2 separate regions of the Homo sapiens genome follow, and region 2 is linked to region 1. The links are contacts of gene promoters, found by promoter capture Hi-C in blood cells and fetal thymus (Javierre and others, 2016). All regions are on one chromosome and are shown on one strand. The core of a region is centred on a gene start or on the middle of the fragment in contact, and the rest is flanking DNA. Distances in the headings are between cores, read along the strand shown.

Region 1 (4,609 bases), core at 427-2,926:
TTGCTGAGACCCCACCCCACCCCCAGGTATCATCCATGCCCGGGCCCTAGTCAGAGAGTGCCTGGCAGAGACAGAGCGGAACGCCCGCACGTAACAGGAAGCGCCTCGGCCTCAGCGTCTGGACCTATCCGGCCACTGCAGAGCACCCGCTTCTCCCTGGCCTTCATCCCGAGTTGCACTAACCATCCTGGGCTTCCTGTCCTGTGTCCCTTGGTGGGTCCCCTCCAGGAACCAAGGAGTGGCCCTCCAGGTGGCAGCACTAAGGACACCCCCCCACAACAAGAGTTAGCAGCGAGGTCCCCATGAGTCCCACCCATGACCTGCCGACAGTGTTGCCCACCGGAACTTTTGTGGCCCCTACCGCTCAGCCCTTCCCAGCACTTCTCCCACTTTGTCCCGAGCCTCCTTCTCCCCCAGCAGGGGCACAGGCCTGGCACCTCCCTGCCTTGTGTCCTGAGCCATAGTGACTCTTTTATCTGTGTGTCTTTTGCTAAATATGCCCTTTTTATATTAATAAAAGATGATTTGGAGTTGTGCTCTCAGCTCTGAGCCTTTCTGGGTCTGGTTCTTCAGCTAAGCCTGGGTGGGCCAGGCAGAGACAGGGGAAGAGGAGACTATGGATGGGGAGGGTGTGATTAAATGAGGTTTGACTTGCCTCTGTAGGCCATCAGCCTTTGGTGGGACCTGGGCCCTCTCCGCCCCAGCCGTGGCGCTGAGAGCCCTGGGCCTTCCTGTGGTGCCACCAGGGGGCAGCACAGGGCCTGGCTGCTTCCACAGCCCTTGGCGCTGTGGGCAGCCTGGGCCTGGAGGGCGCTTCCTCTGGATTGGCGGTGATGCCTGGCAGCATGGAAATGCCAGTTCACGTAAGCCACTCCCTCACACGCCCTAATGCCCTGACAACACCCCAGCCTCTGAATCAGCCCTGAAGGTCTCTGACTTCTCAGAGAGAAAGGGCACTGCTGCTTCCAGCACTTGGCCTCAGTGTCAAGGGGAGGGGCTGGCGGGGTGCTGCCGTCACTGCCCCAGCACCTTGTAGCAGGCTGGGTGGGATCCCATGAACCCAGCCTTGGGGTGCCTCGTGAGGCCTTTGCCCAGACTCCGGGTGGCTGGGTGACCGGACTTGTGGACCCGGAAGGCAGAGGTGGGGGAGGCTTTGTGGCACCATGCAGGGGCTAGCCCAGCCACTCACAGTGACAGCCCGTTTCTGCCTGGGCGTGTAGCTGGGTGACCATAGAGGCCTGGGGCCCTGGAGCCGAGCCCAGCCCTAGGTGGAGGCATGTCAGAGCCACCAGCTTCTGGCTAGACTGGTGGGGAGGCATTTCCTCAACCCTGGGTCCCAAATCTAAGGACTGCAGAGAGTGAGAAGAGGAGAGTGGGCCTGGGACCCCCCATATCAAACCACCCTGTGACTGCACACAGGAGGGCTGGGCTAGGGTGGAGATAGGAACTAAGAGTCTTTGGGGACCCCAATCAGCACAGAGGGACTAGGAAGAGCCAGAATTTAGGCAATGGCCTTTTTCCCACTGCCCGGGGGAAGGAAGGCAGGGGCCTCCCTCCCTGCCTCCTCCGCTGCAGGCGGGGCTGCCCGGACCCCGCCGGGGTGGGGAGGGCCAGCCGGGCCCAGGAAGGGGGCGGGGCGGCCGCAGTGACGCGGCGGGCGTCGGGGAGGGACTGCAGGGGCGCCGGCGGGCGGATCGAGAGGAAGGTCGGGGCCATGGGCCGGCACTGCGCCTCGGGAGGGTCCGGCCACCGCTGGAACCCGAGGCCGGGGCTGGGGGCGCTCCGGGCTCCGACCCACGGGCCGGCCGGCCCTGCCCGGGCTGGGTGAGGGGCGCCCGCCTCAAGCTAGAGGTGAGCCGGGGCGTCGGCAGGCGGGCCAAGAGCGCGGCAGGGGACCGGGACGCCGGCGAGCAGAGGGAAGTGGGGACAACGGGGCCTCTCGCTTGCTCGCGGGGTGCGAGTGGGGGATGGAGGGGTGCCTGCAGCGGAACCTCGGTGCCAGTCTGGGGCGCAGGTGGACGGAGCGGGTCTCCAGGGCCATGGCCCGTGGGATACCAAGTGGAGCCACTCTGGCCTCAGCCTGAGGAGGGCTCACCCCCTGGGAAGAGGACGGAGTGGCTGCCTAGGCGCGTGGAGAGCCGGCGAGGGCCAGGGGTCCAGGAAGGATGCTGGGAGGGGGAGGTCGAGGACCCGGCTGCCCAAGAAGGCAGATCTGGAGGGCGGAGGAGATTACCGGTCCCGGAAGGTAGGTTCGGGTGCAGGGCGTGGGGAACCCTGGCAGAGATGCTGGGCGCACTGGGCCACTCCGCGCAGAGACACTCGGGGAACAAAGCTCTAGGTGGACGTCCGAGAGTGGGGGACTTGGGACCCCGCCGACTCCGGGAAGGGGATGCAAGGGGCGGGTCCCCGAGGGGCCGGTCGCGGAAGGCGGGCCCGGAAGGAGGGGCCCCGGGGCTTCGGGGGCGCGCCCAGAGGGATGCCGTTTCCCGGGGTTAGGACGCGGTCGCAGCGGGAGAGGTGAGGTGGCCCTCCCGCCCGCCGGCCGGAGCCTGGCGCTCCGGGGGGCCCGCGTCAGCGCGCGGTTGCCATGGCGACGGGCGGGCGGGGGGCGGGGGCTGCGCGGAAAAGAGGTCAGCGCTCAGCCTCGCTGCGGCTCCCGGCCCCGGCGGCGCGGGCGGCGGTGCTAGGCTCGCCTCTGCCTCCCTCGTGGCGGGCCCGGACATGGGGTCCCGTGGCCTGAGTCCCTCGGCCGGCGCGCAGGGCTCGGGGCCGCGCGCAGCCTCCCCGCACTGACTGTCGCGCCGTGCCCTGCGCCAGGAGGAGCGGAGGCCGCGCGCGGCCCGCCGAGCGCCTTCAGGATGCTCATCAAGGAATACCACATTCTGCTGCCCATGAGCCTGGACGAGTACCAGGTGGCCCAGCTCTACATGATCCAGGTGAGGGCGGCGGGGAGAGGGCACCCGGGCAAGGGGTGGAGCCCTGCCGACCCCGCCAGCCCTGCCCCGGGGCTGGGACCGGCTGGGAGCCCGGAGGAGGCAAGAGAGGCCCCCCTTCAGATGTGGGAATGGGGAAGGACTGTGGGAAGAGGGGCAGGAGGGCCGAGTGGTGCTTCCCATCCGCTAAGTGCCCAGCCCTCCTCTGATCTCCTGTAATCCTCCTCAGGATCTGTAATCCCATCGGGGAAGGAAAAAGCGCCCAGGAGGCGGCAAGAATGAGGAGGGGGGCCTCCGCGGCAGAGGAAGGCGGGAGGGGGTCTGGAGAAGTGGAGGGTCCTGGCCATCCCTGGAGGTCAGGGAGATGTGGTGAGGACCAGGTGTCAAACCTGGAGCAGGGACAGGGCAGCAAGGATGGGAGGGCGAGGAGGCTCTGGTGTAGGGCAGTGAGAAGAGTGGGCCAGGGCAGGCCCTCAGCAGTGGCCGGGTTGGTGCGGGGCCTGGGGGAGTCTGCTCCAGATCTGTCCCCAGCACAGCAGGACCAGAATCTCATAAAGCAAGAGGGCCCGGACCCCGCCTCGGGCTTGAAAGGGCCATCTGAGCCCCGGAGCAATAGAAGGCAGGATCTGGGGGCTCTCAAGCTCTGAGGGGTGTGGCGGAGCTGGGATTGGGAGGCGGCCAGGGCCTCCCAGAGAGGGAGGGGGCCAGGGTCAGGGCCTCTGAGAGCTGGAGGCCCCTTTTCCTCTCCTAGTCCCTTCTTCCTTGCCAGCCACCCCGGCCTCCTTGCCACCTGCCAGCACATCCAGTATGCTCCCACCTTGGGGCTGCACTGGCTTCCCCCGGCCTTGAGCACCTCCTCCTACCTCACCTCCTTAAAGTCATGTTCAAGCCATGGTCACATTGTGTTATTAGCAAGGCCTTCCCTGACTATCAGATCAAAACTGCAGCCCCCAACCCTCATCACCTATACCCTACTCTAGGCTTTCTTTTCCTATAGCACCTAGCGCCTTCTAACACACCACATAATTTGCTTTTTCCTTTTGTCTGTCTCCTTCCACTAGAATGTAAGTTCCACGAGGGCAGGGATCTTTGTTCTATTCATCAATATATCTCAATTGATATAATCCCAAACACTGCCTGGAGTGGAGCAGACACTCAATGAATACTTGAATGACTCAACTGAGTGCTGGGTTGCAGACCCCATGCGGGGCTGGGCTGCATCTGTGATTCTGATCCCAGGGAGCTTTGGTGGGGCGGGGTCTGGTTTCAGGGAGTTGAAAAGGCTGGGACCAGGGCCCCAGAGCTGTGTAGAACACCAGGCTGAGCTGGGGATCCCAGATGCTAAGCTGGGGCTGAGCTCCCTGTCCTGCTCTCCCTTGGGCCACAGAAAAAGAGCCGGGAGGAGTCTAGTGGTGAGGGCAGCGGCGTGGAGATCCTGGCCAACCGGCCCTACACGGATGGGCCCGGGGGCAGCGGGCAATACACACACAAGGTGTACCACGTGGGCTCCCACATCCCAGGCTGGTTCCGGGCACTGCTGCCCAAGGCTGCCCTGCAGGTAGAAGAGGAATCCTGGAATGCCTACCCCTACACCCGAACCCGGTGAGTGGGTGAGCTGGGCATGGTCCGAGGCCAGGAGGGGAGCGGCCCTGGTGGGTACAGCAGTGAGCCTCACC
Region 2 (4,609 bases), core at 1,212-3,711, 550 kb after region 1:
AACCTCCGCCTCCCGGGTTCAAGCGATTCTCTTGCCTCAGCCTCCCCAGTAGCTGGGACTACAGGTGACTGCCACCACACCCGGCTAATTTTTGTACTTTTTTAGTAGAGACGAGGTTTCACCATATTGGCCAGGCTGGTCTTGAACTCCTGACCTTGTGATCTGCTGCCTCGGCCTCCCAAAGTGCTGGGATTACAAGTGTGAGCCACGGAGCCCGGCCCCATTTTTTAATTTTTAAAAGACAGAGATGAGGTCTTAGTGTGTTGCCAATGCTGGTCTCAAATTCCTGGGCTCAAGTATTCCTCCCTACTCAGCCTCCCAAAGGTGAACTGGGATCTTAATCCTTGTTCTGTTACTAAAATAGCTGTGTCGGATCCAACCCAAGGTTGGAGTTCTTCAGGACGGGTAGAAGGAATGACAGGGAAGTTGGAGTGAGAAACTACTTATACAAGAAGTCTGAGAGAAGAGTCAGATCTCTCCAGGCTCAATAAACAATTTCTAGTTAGCAAGATGTTCTCATAGTCTTTGATTCTCCTTTTTGGAAGCAGGTTATTTTTTCTCTTTGCCCTTATCACCATCTGATGTACTATGTATTAATCTGGGCCGGGCGCGGTGGCTCACGCCTATAATCCCAGCACTTTGGGAGGCCGAGGCGGGTGGATCATGAGGTCAGGAGATCGAGACCATCCTGGCTAACAAGGTGAAACCCCGTCTCTACTAAAAATACAAAAAATTAGCCGGGCGCGGTGGCGGGCGCCTGTAGTCCCAGCTACTCAGGAGGCTGAGGCAGGAGAATGGCGTGAACCCGGGAAGCGGAGCTTGCAGTGAGCCGAGATTGCGCCACTGCAGTCCGCAGTCCGGCCTGGGCGACAGAGCGAGACTCCGTCTCAAAAAAAAAAAAAAAAAAATATATATATATATATATATATTAATCTGTCTGCTCTCCTTTGAAGGCAGGATTTTGGTTTGTTTGGTCACTCCCTTATCCCCTGGTTGGCACAGACCCCAGTTTACGCAGCGGTGAATGAAAGTAAAAATCTCGGGACCCCCCCCCAGCGCCCCAATTCATGCGAAAGTGAAGATTAAGCCTTGAAGCTGAGTCACTGCAACACCCTCTTCCAAAAGAATAGCTGTTACTAGCATTAGGCATCAGCCATATCCACACGGAAAGGTAAAAACCTCAGGCATTTGGGAAGGGCTGCCCCCACAGATCATTCACAAGTAAATTCTTGCTGGCCTCCCATAAACAAGGACAGGTCAATTGTAGCTTCAGGTCTACAATCTAAGTCTAGCTCCTAAAAATTCCACAATAAGAATGTCATTACAAGCTTATTTTCCCAGGTGCAGAACAAAGTCAAAACTACCTACTCAGAGACATCTGCATAACTGACTCTTCCTTTACTCTCTTTTTCTCTTCAGACATTCATCTCATCTTACGTAGATTTACCGGGCATTAGCTAAAGTCCCATAGGAATGTAACTATTGTCCTAATCGCCTACTTGCCCTTCTTCCTACATGCCTTCCCCTCATTCCCCCTTTAAGGAAATGCATAAATACTAAACCTCCCGAAAACCTCTTCGGAAAAACAACCACGGATGTGTCTGTGGTTCGTGTTTTTCCCGAGCACGCCCTCAAACTGGATTAATAAGCCTCGATGACAGAGACTTATGCCTCAGTCACTTGTTCCACTTGTCAAAGCTTTCCTCTTTGACAAGTGTCTTGGGTCTTGTCAAGTGTCTTGTGTCTCAAACAAGGCTTCCAAACCCCCTAGGTCCTGAGTAGCTTCGCTCTGCAGATGACAAAACCGAGACTCAGAGGTTAAGTTGCTTGCCCAAGGTCACACAGACGTACTGTAGACCCCCATCATCATCTACGCAGCTGTTAAAGGACATAGTCATGTAACCCGTGTGGCACAAGCGCCTTCTCCTTCCTCCTGCCCTTCGCTAACGTTAGCTTTTCCTGCGACCTCTTCTCCGCTAGCCAGCGCGTATCTGCGTCTAGCCGGGATGCCTGAGCCCCAGTGCGAACTGTTGTGCTTGCAGCTTCGGGAGACACGTGCTACTCGGGTGAATGAATCGAACGTCCCCACCCCCGCCGACAGCCAATAACTGCGAGCCACAGCCCGGCCACTTCCGCCTATTGCGGGCGTCGGCTAGGGTCCGGCGGCCCACGTGAGGCTCCGGAGACAAGGGAGTAGGCGGTGGTGCGCCAGGGGCGGGCTCTCCCAGCCTCGCCACTTATCCAGGCGCTCGCCGGGGACGGGAGGGGCGGGGCTGACGTGGGGCGCCAAGGCTTAAACGTGACGGACAGGCGGGCACAGGGAGGAGTCCAGAGCCTAGGGGCGAGGAGTGACGGAGAACACTGCCCAATAACGGGAGGGGTTGGGCTGTCTGGGCCAATAGGAAGTCCGTAAGGCGGGGCCGGGACTGCAGCAAGTTCGGTTGCACGGAGACCGCAGCTGTTCTCTGTCAGTGGAGGCAGCAGCGGTAGAGGCGGCGGCGAGGACTGGCGACGGCGAGGAGGTGAGTGTCCGCCGCGCTCCGCACGGTCCTCTTCCCGCGGCGGGTCGGAGCGGGTGGACGTGCGCCGGCACCGCTGCGAGGGACGCTTATGTAAGGGTCGCGCGCGCAAAGGCGGCGCGGGCTCCGCGAGTGACGGCTGGAGGAGACAGCGACGGGCTGTGCGCGGTGCGCGACGCGACGCAGCGGACGGCGCCCCTCCCCCTCGCGCGGGGGCTCGGCCGGCTGGACCCGCCCCCGGACCCGCCCCCGGCTGCAGCCCCCGAGCGCCCCTCCGCAGCGTCCGCCTGCGGGCTGCCTCATTCTTGCTCTCGGGCCCATTTTGCAGATGGAGAAACTGACTAAAGCGCCTCGCGCGAGGTCCCTGAGGGTTCGAACCCAAGTCTGTCAGGATCGGGAGCCCAAGTTGTCCCCATCGTACTGGATGTGGCTCAGCTCTGCAGGAAGCCGCGGCGTGTAAGGCGAGGGCTTTCCTTGTTCCTTGCTCTCGCACTCCGCCTCCCGTAGGATCCTCTACTTTGTTTCAGACGGGGAAGCTCCAGGCGCCCAGACGCAGTGATTCGCCCAAGGCCGCTCATTCAGGAGGTGGGGCTGGGCTCAGCCCCTTATTTCTCCAGCTTTTAGTAGTTTACAAAGCGCATCAGAGTCGGAAGCCAAGTCCCTAGGTCCCTGGCAACTTTGAGATTCTTTTGTTTTCTTTTCTTTTTTAGACAGGGTCTTGCTGTCACCCACCCAGGCTGGAGTGCAGTGGCGCGATCTCGGCTCACTGCAGTCTCGACCTCCCGGGCTCAAGCGACCCTCCTGCCACAGTCCCCCAGTGCTGGGACTACAGGCGGGCGCCACCACGCCTAGCTAATTTTTGTATTTTTTGGTAGAGACGAGGTTCCGTCATGTTGCCCAGGCTGGTCTCGAACTCCTACGCTCAAGCGAGCGGCCTGCCCTGGCTTCCCAAAGTGCTGAGATTACAGGCGTGCCTCGTCTGAAATTCTAAAAAATCAGATTGTGTCTTTATTTTGTGAGAAGAGGTAGGCCTGGGCTCCTTACCCGTTCTCCAGCTGAGAAAACAGGCTCAGAGAAGTACCAACACTTGCTGATGACAACCAGAACCTCCAGAGTGCCTGCCATCTGCCTCCCTATTGCTCCCGTACCCACTGCCACCATCAGCCCTGGCTGGCCTCCCCCAAGGCACCCTTTCCCTGTATGTGATGCAAACACTTGTGCTGGGGGTGGATGTGCTCAGCATTTCTCTCACTTGCAGCTACAGCTTCCTGCCTGCAGGCTCTCCTTAACTGTTGAACTCTTAATCACATTCTTTTGCACACCTACAGTGTTCCTATCCCTACACTGGGCCGAGAGACAGCGTGGGCGATGAGGTCAATCCTTGTCCTGCAACTGCTGACAAACCCATTGGGGGAGAGAGAAAATAAACAAAACCTAAGCAGCAAGGCAGCCTGCTGCAGATGTTTGTAGAGAGCCTAGTGGGTGAGGTATTGGCCCTAGGAGGACATGGAAGAGGAAGTTCAGTAGAGGCCAGTAAATCACAGCAAACCACACACTAAAGCGAGAGAGAGGAGAAATGGCCTGGAAGGGGATGGGCTTGGGAAGGCTTCGTGGAGGAGGTGAGTTGTGGACCTCTTTTTGATGCCGCTGCAGTGGAGAAACAGTGATTGGATTTCAGCAGCTAGAAAGTTTTATTCTGGAGAGGTTTTGTTAAAGAGGTTTTTTTGTTTTTGTTTTTTGAGATGGAGTTTCGCTCTTGTCGCCCAGGCTGGAGTGCAGCGGTGTGATCTCAGCTCACCACAACCTCCGCCTCCCGAGTTCAAGCGATTCTCCTGCCTCAGCATCCTGAGTAGCTGGGATTACAGGCGCATGCCACCACACCTGGCTATTTTTTGTATTTTTAGTAGAGATGGGGTTTCACCATGTTGGCCAGGCTGGTCTTGAACTCCTGACCTCAGGTGATCCGCCCACCTCGACCTCCCAAAGTGCTGGGATTATAGGCATGAGCCATCATGCCTGGCCAGTTACAGAGGTTTCAAGCAATTAGAACTGGAAGAGGAAGGCTGAGGAAGGTGGAAGGAGAATGTGGG

Evidence for each region. Contacts are between HindIII fragments. The CHiCAGO score rates a contact against its expected background, and 5 or more counts as called.
Region 2: the fragment with the promoter of PC here is called in contact with the fragment with the promoter of PITPNM1 in region 1 in 1 of 17 cell types (non-activated CD4 T cells); the score reaches 5.5 in non-activated CD4 T cells.

The regions. Positions count from the first base shown.
Region 1 is chr11:67,502,430-67,507,038 of GRCh38, reverse strand. PITPNM1 (phosphatidylinositol transfer protein membrane associated 1) reads left to right here and starts at 1,676. Exons shown (of 24, transcript NM_004910.3): 1 at 1,676-1,851; 2 at 2,818-2,936; 3 at 4,321-4,535. The coding sequence starts at 2,859. It overlaps CDK2AP2 (cyclin dependent kinase 2 associated protein 2), which reads left to right. Exons shown (of 4, transcript NM_005851.5): 4 at 27-542. The coding sequence ends at 94. RefSeq lists silencers at 1,380-2,009, 2,220-2,379, 2,390-2,509, 2,590-2,689 and enhancers at 2,468-3,217, 3,218-3,967. The HindIII fragment of the contact is 23,305 bases long and covers 1-4,609 here.
Region 2 is chr11:66,956,235-66,960,843 of GRCh38, reverse strand. It overlaps PC (pyruvate carboxylase), which reads left to right and starts at 2,461. Exons shown (of 23, transcript NM_001040716.2): 1 at 2,461-2,522. RefSeq lists silencers at 2,024-2,383, 2,704-2,803 and enhancers at 2,454-2,503, 3,667-4,046. The HindIII fragment of the contact is 4,821 bases long and covers 1,701-4,609 here.